2 separate regions of the Homo sapiens genome follow, and region 2 is linked to region 1. Evidence: promoter capture Hi-C in human tissues and cell types (Jung and others, 2019). All regions are on one chromosome and are shown on one strand. Each heading gives the region's core, a stretch centred on a gene start or on the middle of the fragment in contact. The rest is flanking DNA. Distances are from core to core; before and after follow the strand shown. Region 1 holds the start of STRA6 (signaling receptor and transporter of retinol STRA6). Region 2 overlaps CCDC33 (coiled-coil domain containing 33).

Region 1 (4,661 bases), core at 507-3,006:
AGGATATGTGGAGCCCACAGGCTCTCGGTCAGTCAGGCAAGATGAGTGGGGAGCACGCCCTTGCTGACTGCAGGCTATTTTCCAGGTGGTCAGAACCCTGAGTCCTCCAAACAACAGCTCCTTCCCCGAGGCCTGGGTGGAGCCTCTGTCCCTGCTGGATGACCCAAGCCCAGCCAGGCCGCAGCCCCAGCCCCTGGGGAGGCACGCAAGGATTTTTCCTTCTCAAGTTTCAGGTTTTGATGGAGAACAGATGTGCACACATCTGGCTCGGCAACCCCCAGCCTCACCTTTCTACTTCTCCAAACCGTCAGACAGAGCAGGGAGATAAGGGATGGGGCCAGGCCTGGGAACAACAGGGGAGAACTGGCTCTGGGTCCTACACAGGCAAGACATCCTGGCAGGAGGTGGGGGACACAGAAGGGGCCCAGCTCCTCCACCAGGGTGCCCAGACTAAACCCCGGTAGAATGGACCCAGGCAAAGCAGCTGTGGCTGGGTTCTCAGGCCACCCTGGGGCGGGCTGCCTTCCTGCTCCCACCCTCACCTGGGCTGGCCTGAGCACTTCTGCTAAAGGGAATAGGCTCTCCTCATCCTCTGAGACCATCCAAAGACAACAAGGGTGCTTGTTTCCTCAGTGACTTCTCACCAGGCTTTCTCCCTTTGGTTCTCTGCCTTCCCCGAATCCCCCAGCCTGCCCAGAGAACTTGACACTTGGAAACACCACACCCAAATGCTCACCACAGAGACCAATAACCCCTTGAAGGGAGGTCTGCTTGCCTCAACTGCTCTCAGCAGCTTCTCCATCCTGGCTATGGGCCAGAATCACCCAGGGAGCCATCCCTGCAGATCTGAATCATCTGTATTTTTAACACGTCACACATCATACCTAAGGTGACCAGCCTTAGGTGTCTTAACAGCAGGGTGAGGGATGTTGTTCTCATGTAACAGAGGCAGAGACTGAATGAACCCCAGAGAGGCTGTGACTTGCCCAAGGTCACACAGCAAATGAGTGGCAGAGCCAGACCTAGCAGCCCCTGCCCAGGAGCTGCTCCCTGGCCAGTTGCAACCTCTGCCATCACCCCATTCTGATGGCTGACAGAGTGAGGTGGGGTGGTTCCACACTTACCCCTCTGGCTGGAGCTCCTCGCCCCCCTGGGGCTCATCGATGTACCAGCTGCCATAGGAGTAGTCCTCTGTGGCCCCGGGGGAGGTCTGGTTCCCTGCTGGCTGGGACGACATTCTCTGGCCCTTCTCCTTTGACCCCAGGCGAGAGAAAAAAAAAGCCACTACAGATGTGAAAAGAGGCTTAAAAGAGAAAAAAAAAGAAAGAAAGACGGAAAACCCAAACAAAGAAACATTTCTCTTTAATCCTGAAGGTTACTTTCTTACTTTTAGCTCTCTGGGAAAAGCCCGTCTGGGACTGAGGGCCTGAGCAAGCTGGCACGGGAAGAGGACAGGGCCTCTCGTGTCCCCTCCTCCCTTCCCGCCCATCGCACTGGTCCTGCAGAGATAGCTGTCCCCTTGGGGCCCCGGGGCTCCCGCTGGCGCATCTGTCTGACCAACCACCAGCAGGCGTGTGTTCAAAGGACCATTTTCAAAGAAGGCTTGTCCAGTCTGAGCTGCCTAAAGAGACGCCCCTTCCTTCCCCTTTCCCAAGCCCACCTAGACAGACCCACAGACACACCAGAAGGGAGGCCCAGGGAGGAAGGAGTTGCAGAGATGAAAGGGTAGGCAGCCCACGGCCAGCTCCGCACTGCCTGCCTGGGCCCTCCCAGCTGGGCTCCCTTGAGCCCCTCCCCCAGCCTCAGCCTGCCCCTTTCTGGCCCCTTTGGGCCTCGGTGATGGAAATACACCATAATCCTTGACAAAGCCCCCCTCCTGGGGGAGGAGGCCCCAGCACCATTGGCGGCCTGAGCCCTGCAAGGGTGTGGCCAGGAGCCACCCCCACCCCCGCACCTGACTTCACACACATACCTGCCTTCAGCGCCTGCCCCAGAGCTCCCAAGCCCCTGCCCGCCACATCTGCAGTGCCGCACACAGACAGGAGACCAGCATTACAGCAACAACCGAGTGAGACGGACCGCTGGGGCTGGGCTGGGGCGGAGGCAGGGAAGGGGAATCTGTCCGTTTCTTCTCCTAGGGTTTCCATGAAGGAGGCAACATGTGTCTCATTGGTAAACCCTTTTTGTTCCTACAAGTTGATTTCACAAGGAGATAACTCACCCCCACAAGGCGGAAATTAGCTCTTTAAACACAAACCAGACCCACGGGTAGGCAAGAGGAGCCCCGCCTGCCTCCTGCTCCTCCTGGAGTGAGGTTGAGGGTGAGCAAGGGAAGGTCTGGGCCAGGGAGGAGGGCTCCTCCGCATTCTCCCTCCCCAGGAGCAGGACCCTGCCCCAGCCTGGAGGAAGGGGCGAGAGGCAGAAGAAGGTAGAAAGCAGTTCTCAGGCCACTGTCCCTGGTGGAGGTTTAGGCCCCTAAAACTGTGAGGGTCTCTGTCCTTCCAATACCCTACAAGGGGCTTCGGCTTGGACCCTGTCAGCTAAGGCAGTCATTCAACAGCTTTTTTAAGAAGACATTATTCATTTAGTCTTTTAACTTAAATTTATTGAACACACACTATGTGCCAGCACTGTTCTGAGCCCTGAGGCAGGAGAGATGACAGTTCAGCGGGGACACAGCCAGATAACTAAATCCCCTCCAAAGTCTGAGGGTTACAAAGGGAATCACAGGTTGAGCTGGTCTGTACCATGGGAAACCAAATTTAGTCCAAGAGCATTTGGGGATGGGGGGAGATTCCTGAAGAAAAGAACCTTTCCGTGGTGATCTGAAGGGCAGGGGAAAGTCCGCTGAGCAGAGGGTGGCAGGCTCAGGATGGGGATGGGGGTGGGGGAAAGTGTGTTCCCCACAGAGGAAACAGCACGGGTGAAGTCTCAGAGTAGACAGGGCTTGAAATCCTGGAGGCTCTCTTTCAAATTCCCAAGCCTGCAGGGCAGGATTAGGGGCTGAGCACCCTGCTAGCCTGAGTTCCTCCCCCTTCTTCCCAAATGGCCCTTCTTGCAGGAAGAGGGCTCTGTTGCTCTCCACCATCCCACAGAGATATCAGCATCTGCTGACTCAGAGCTGAACCCGAGCTTTATTTGATGTAATGAGGAGCCCACACTGGCCCTTCTGATCCCAGGGATGCGGGAAACTTGCCTTCCAGGCGCGAGTGTGAGCTCCCGGAGGGCGGGACTCTATCCCTCCCACCCCTCCTCCTGCCTTCCCCTGATGCTCAGCGCCTGGCCCTTGGGTAAGAGGGACTTCAGAAATTGAGCTTGGCAAAGCCATTGCTTGTTCTGGCGGCCAGTATTCATTTGTGGGCCTGTCCTATACAGGCGGCTGCTGTGCCCTGAGGTTCACCAGCTGGGCTTCCCAGAGTCCCCGTGCCCACACCAGAGGCCAGCAAGCCCTTCCCTGCTCAGGGGTCTCAGACTGTTACCTTAGGGAGCAGCCAACTCCCATCTGATTTTAAATCCACCTCCAACCATTGGAGTCCAGTTCCAGACAGGGAGCCCACTCCCTCTACAAGGCAGCAGTGTCAGGGGTTAGACATCCTTGCCTATCAGAAACCATGCCCTTTGGCCAGGTGTGGTGGCTTACACTTGTAATCCTAGCACTTTGGGAGGCCGAGGCAGGTGGATCACCTGAGGTCAGGAGTTAGAGACCCAGCCTGGCCAACAAGGCAAAATCCCATCTCTACTAAAAATACAAAAAATTAGCCGGACGTGGTGGCGCACACCTGTAATCCCAGCTACTAGGGAGGCTGAGGCAGGAGAATCGCTTGAACCCAGGGGGCAGAGGTTGCAGTGAGCCAAGATCGTGCCACTGCACTCCAGCCTGGACAAAAGAGGCAAACTCCATCTCAAAAAAAAAGAAAGAAAGAAAGAAAAGAAACCATCCTCTTCCTTGGAGGAAGCCTAACTCTGCCTTCCCCAGGCTGGTTTGGCAGCGAGCAAGATGAGTCAAGGCCTGCACCAAATGGAACCTGATGTATGGTAGGGCTTAGGGGAGACAACACCAGAGGGGAAGTGAAGTGGGGGAAGAGAAGAGAGACGGGAGTTGGCTGTTTGAGACAAGGTGGTCAGGGAAGGCCTCACTGAGAAGGTGGTGTGTTGCTGATACCAGAGGGGAGAGAGGGAGGTACCAGTTGGGCACTGTGTTCATCTGTTTCGCATTGCTGTGAAGGAAAACCTGACTCTGGGTAACTTAGAAGGAAAGGGGGTTTATGTGGCTCACAGTTCTGCAGGCTGTGCAGGAAGCAGCACGGCACCAGCATCAGCTTCTGGGGAGGGCCTCAGGAAACCCACAATCGTGATGGAAGGTGAAGGGGGGTCAGGCAGGACACTTGGCAAGAGAGGGAGCAGGAGAGATGCCAGGCACTTACAAATAGCCAGCTCTCACATGAACTGATAGAGCGAGAACTCACTCATTACCACAGGGAGGGCACCAAGCCATTCAGGAGGGATACCCCGCAATGACCCAAACACCACACACCAGGCCTCACTTCCAACACTGGGGTCACATTTCAACATGAGATTTGGAGGGCACACACATCCAAACCATATCGGGCACTGAAGAAAGGCAATCAGGTTGCCTGAAGGAGCCTCCATCTGCCCAGGGG
Region 2 (4,640 bases), core at 1,209-3,708, 70 kb after region 1:
GCGCATGGGGACAGACTCCCTGTCTCCCCTGTCTGCCTTCCAGTGTCCCCCAGGCCCAGACTGAGCAGGGGGTCAGTGAGGGTTGGAGCAAGGTGACGCTGTCCACTCCTGCTTTGTAACCTCCTGCTGGGACCCCGCTCGGCTCTCTGAAAGCTGCGCCAATAGAAGCCTGGAGTAGAGGAGAGGGCAGTCAGGACTGGGAGGCAGGGAAGCCTTTAGGGGGTGACAGAGGACTGAGGAGGGAACAACCAAGGGCGGTCAGGGGAGTGACAACCGGGATCTGATGAAGAAAGAGGAGCCCAGAGATGCGGATGCTATGATCCTGTTCCAAACCAGTACTTCCTGGGGAAACCAGCAAGGCAGGAGAGCAGGCACCAGGGTGAGCAGTGGAGCAGGCACCAGGGTGATGGGCACGAGGGAGGCAAGGGGAGCCTGGCTGTGGCCGCTGATCTCAGGAAGTTCAGCATGGTCGGAGAAACCAGACCTGGGCTTCCTGTCTTCAGTTTATAAAGTGCTCTCTCACAAACGATCTAATCAGAGACCCCTCACAGCCCTGGGAGGAGCCTCATTTGACTGACAGAAACCAAGGAGCTGGAACACCTAGCCCTACCCCTAGCCCAACCCCTCCCCAGGAGCCAGTGGAGGGGCCGAGGTTAGAACACAACCTCCCTTCCCAGGACCCAACTCTCATCGTACCCTTTCTCCCCAAAGAAACTAGTGTAAGAGATCCATTGGTAAATCCCAGGACAGAAAGCGGGAGCAGTTGCCTCAGCTCGGCAGAGAAGGCTTCCTGAGGGAGGGCAGCCTGGTGCAAAGCAAGAACCGAGTAAGGCAGGGAACAGGGAGAAGCAGGTGTCAAGTGTGGAGGCAGCCATGAGCTCACGGATGGGGAAAAAGAGGGTAGGCAGTCTGGCTGGCTGTCTCTGGAAGGTCCCAAGGCCACATGGTGTTCACCTGCCTCCTCTCCTCTCCTCTCCAGATCTTTCTCCGGGGAGTCAACGAGCCCCTGGCCAACAACCCCAACCCCATAGTGGTGATTGCCCGGGTCGTTCCCAACTACAAGGAATTTAAGTGAGTGGGGCCCAGGTGGACCTGGGTGAGGAGGGCAGAGCAGAGGGCAGAGGAGGGGGTGAGGCTGTCATTGCTGCCATGGGCTGATTCCAGGACCTCCGGCAACCCCTCTACCCCTAAGGCCCTTCAAGCCTCTCCATTGGGTCTGAGGTCCCAGTAAGCTTCCTGCAGCAGACCATGCCTTTCTTTCCCCAGGGAGAGCCCAGGCCCCTGGAAAGGGGCAGCTCAGTCCTCTCCTGAGAGCAAGCTGGAGGGCAGGTGGTGGGGATGAGTGCCGATACCAGGCCTAACAGCTAGAGAGTGTGGGGAGGACAACAAGAGGGGTCCTCATTCCCTGCTCAGGGAACCTCAGCCCCTCCAACCTGCCTCCCTGCCTCACACCCACCACCTCCCCACTCCCCCTCCCACTCTAGCTCAGGGCCACAGGCTCCAGCCAGTGGTTGGCCCCAAAGGCCATCTTGGAACTTCACAGCCTTTAGCCCTGCCGGGCGGAGTCTCCTCCCTCCTCATCCTGGAGGTCTCCCTGGTCCCAGCCACAACTCATCCCCTCCTCCCCTAGACCTCCTTTTGAGTCTGTTGGAGTCACAGTCCTCAAGAGGAGATTCATACTTTGCCACACAGTGGGAAATTCCCCTATGAACGTGTGCTCTCTGCCACAGCACCGACTCCTGGGAGTCAGGGTCTGTCTTGGTCACTTCCAACTGGCCCTGATGGCCCAAGATGACTCCCCTACTTCTCTGTATCTCCTGTTGAGTTTTTATGACTTATGAAGCCCCCTTGCTTGTTGGAGGAAGGAAGATGATTGATGCACGCCCAGCCCAGTGGTCCCCACTTGTCGTGAGGTCCAGGCCCGAACTCGGCGGGATCCCTGCAACTCCCTTCTCTTGCATCAACCCAGAGTCTAAGCGGGGGGCCCTGGGCTGCCAGGCTCAGGTGCAGAGCCCAGAGCACTGACCCTGTCTCCCTGCCTCCCCAGGGTCAGCCAGGCTAACAGGGACCTGGCCTCTGTGGGGCTGCCCATCACCCCACTGTCCTTCCCTATCCCGTCCATGATGAACTTTGACGTGCCTCGCGTCAGCCAGAACGGATGCCCTCAGGTATGTCTCCTCCCCAGTGGTTCCAGCTTCCTGTAACTACCCCACACATTCACTGTTCACTCACTCAGTGAGTCAGTCAGCAGTTCCCTTGACTATCGAGTAAGAGTTGACTGAATCCCACGGCATACCCAGTGCTGTGCTCGCCTGTGCGGCAGAGAAACTGCCCTCCAGGAACTCTTGGTCTGGTGAAGATGGGAGTCACGTGGGTGAAAAAGTTGAACATCAACACAAGATAATGTATAATCTAATAACAAACTGGGAGGGCCTGTCAGGGCTATCACATCAGAGGAGAAGATACAAAAGGACAAATATATGATTCCACTTATATGGGATACCTAGAATAGGAAAATTCAGAGTCAGAATGTAGAACAGTGGCTACAGGGGCTGGGGAAAGGGAAGAATGGGGAGTTACAGGTCATAAGTACCTAGTTTCCGTTTCAAGTGATGAAAAGTCCTGGAAATAGATAGTGGTGATGGTTACACAACAATACGAACAAATGAATGCATTTAACATTACCGAACTGTACATTAAAAATGGCTACAATGGTGAATGTTGTGTTACGTATATTTTAACCCAGTAAAAAAATTTTTTTTGAGACAGAGCCTCGCTCTTGTCTCCCAGGCTGGAGTGCAGTGGCGCAGTCTTGGCTCACTGCAACCTCTGCCTCCCGGGTTCAAGCAATTCTCCTGCCTCAGCCTCTCGAGTAGCTGGGCTTATAGGCACATGCCACCATGCCTGGCTAATTTTTATCCTTTTAGTAGAGACAGGGTTTCACCATGTCGGCCAGGCTGGTCTCGAACTCCTGACCTCAGGTGATCCACCCGCTTTGGCCTCCCAAAAGGCTGGGATTACAGGCATGAGTCACTGCGCCCAGCGAAAAATTTTTTTTAATCAGAGGAGAGGGATGTAAAGCCTGGATTAGGGAAGGCAGTCTTGAATTTTTTTTTTTTTTTTTGAGACAGAGTCTTGCTCTTGTTGCCCAGGCTGGAGTGCAGTGGCACCATCTTGGCTCACTAGCAACCTCCGCCTCCCAGGTTCAAGCAATTCTCCTGCCTCAGCCTCCCAGGTAGCTGGGATTACTGGCACCCGCCACCATGCCCGGCTAATTTTTGTATTTTCAGTAGAGATGGAGTTTCACCATGTTGGCCAGGCTGGTCTCAAACTCCTGACCTTGTGACCTGTCCACCTCGGCCTCCCAAAGTGCTGGAATTACAGGCATGAGCCACTGCACTCAGCCGGCAGTCTTGAATTTTTAACAGAGGAAGGGTTGGTACAGGTTGGACACAGCAATAGCACAAGTGTGAGGTGGAGACAGGCAGGCTATGACCCATGTCAGGGCAGACAGGAGGGCTGTGTGTTTGAGTATGAGGTTGGGGGCGGGTGCACGCACAGAACATGGCTGGGTTCAGGGGAATAGCCAGATTGGTCTCTTCTCATGATCTGCGCTTCACTGCCAGCTTGCCCTACACGATGGTCCCAACATTCCTAGGGGCCTTGGGGGACAGAGGGATTTTTGGAGGTCCCTCCTATTGTCTGCCCACCAGTGCTTATGTCTGGCATAGCAAAAATAGAACAAGACACCCCTTTGGAGCCCAGGCTTCATTTAAAGGCAAAGACATTTGAAGAAGGCTCAGACATGGGGTAGAGTGATGGTGGTGGGGAGGAGTGGGACAAAGGGGGACCCTGGGGACAGAGGCTTCAAACCCAAACCAATCCTTTGCCTGATTTCCCTAGAGTTACCTCACACATGGCCCTGCATTTGCCCAGAAAATTAAGAACCAATCAGCAGGCTGTCCCAAGGGGCAAGAGGCACTGCCTGCTTTAATGAGTGTGCCCCCTCCCACCCCCAGGCTTTCTCTGGCTGCCTTTGCTGCCTAACTAGTCTGGGTAGGAGAGGTGCCACTCACTACAGAGACTTGTTCCCAGTGCCTTTTGCATGTGTGGGACCCGGTCCAGCAATGGCAGGACACCTGTTGAACATCACCCAACCCCATGGCAGCTGGGCCAGGTTGGGAATTTGCTGGCAGCTGGCACAGAGGTGCCCAGGTGCAGCAGTGAGAGAACAGGAGCAGGCTGCTGTGGTAAGGAGGGGTGGGGATTGCCCGGGCAGAGCCATACCTGGAGGGGCACCAGTCAGCAGCGTGAGCTCAGTCTTCACACAGACCCCTGCCCTGTTCCCTTTGAGCGTCAGTCCCCTCATCTCTACACTTGAGGGGGTGGGATTGGACTTGGTAATTTTAGGGCCTGCCCTCTCTGACATCTTGGGGGGCTGTGATTTCTCACCAACTGTCACTGTGCAAAAGCACTGTTTGACCTGGGTTTGACCCCAGCTCTGTAACTTACTGGCTGCATGACCTTTGGTAAGCTGCTCCTTTCTCCAGACTCATTGATTCCAATCTGTTAGGAGAACTCAAAGGATAATCTTTGCAAAGTGTCCAGGCCCAGGGTCCAAGGTAAATGGGTTCCACTCT

What was found. The method cuts DNA at HindIII sites, captures the fragments that hold promoters and counts their contacts. A contact is called where the count stands out against the background at its distance.
Region 2: a fragment that was not itself captured here is called in contact with the fragment with the promoter of STRA6 in region 1 in 2 of the 25 tissues and cell types used here (H1 embryonic stem cells and pancreas).

Annotation. Positions count from the first base shown.
Region 1 is chr15:74,201,031-74,205,691 of GRCh38, forward strand. It overlaps STRA6 (signaling receptor and transporter of retinol STRA6), which reads right to left and starts at 1,757. Exons shown (of 19, transcript NM_022369.4): 1 at 1,683-1,757; 2 at 1,125-1,252. The coding sequence starts at 1,237. It also overlaps a transcript of CCDC33 not described here. RefSeq lists enhancers at 1-125, 1,918-2,087, 2,029-2,662, 4,148-4,661. The HindIII fragment of the contact is 11,640 bases long and covers 427-4,661 here.
Region 2 is chr15:74,270,724-74,275,363 of GRCh38, forward strand. CCDC33 (coiled-coil domain containing 33) reads left to right here. Exons shown (of 19, transcript NM_025055.5): 6 at 980-1,071; 7 at 2,048-2,168. Among named protein-coding and RNA genes, the nearest start is that of CCDC33, 37 kb to the left of the region's middle. The HindIII fragment of the contact is 5,899 bases long and covers 1-4,640 here.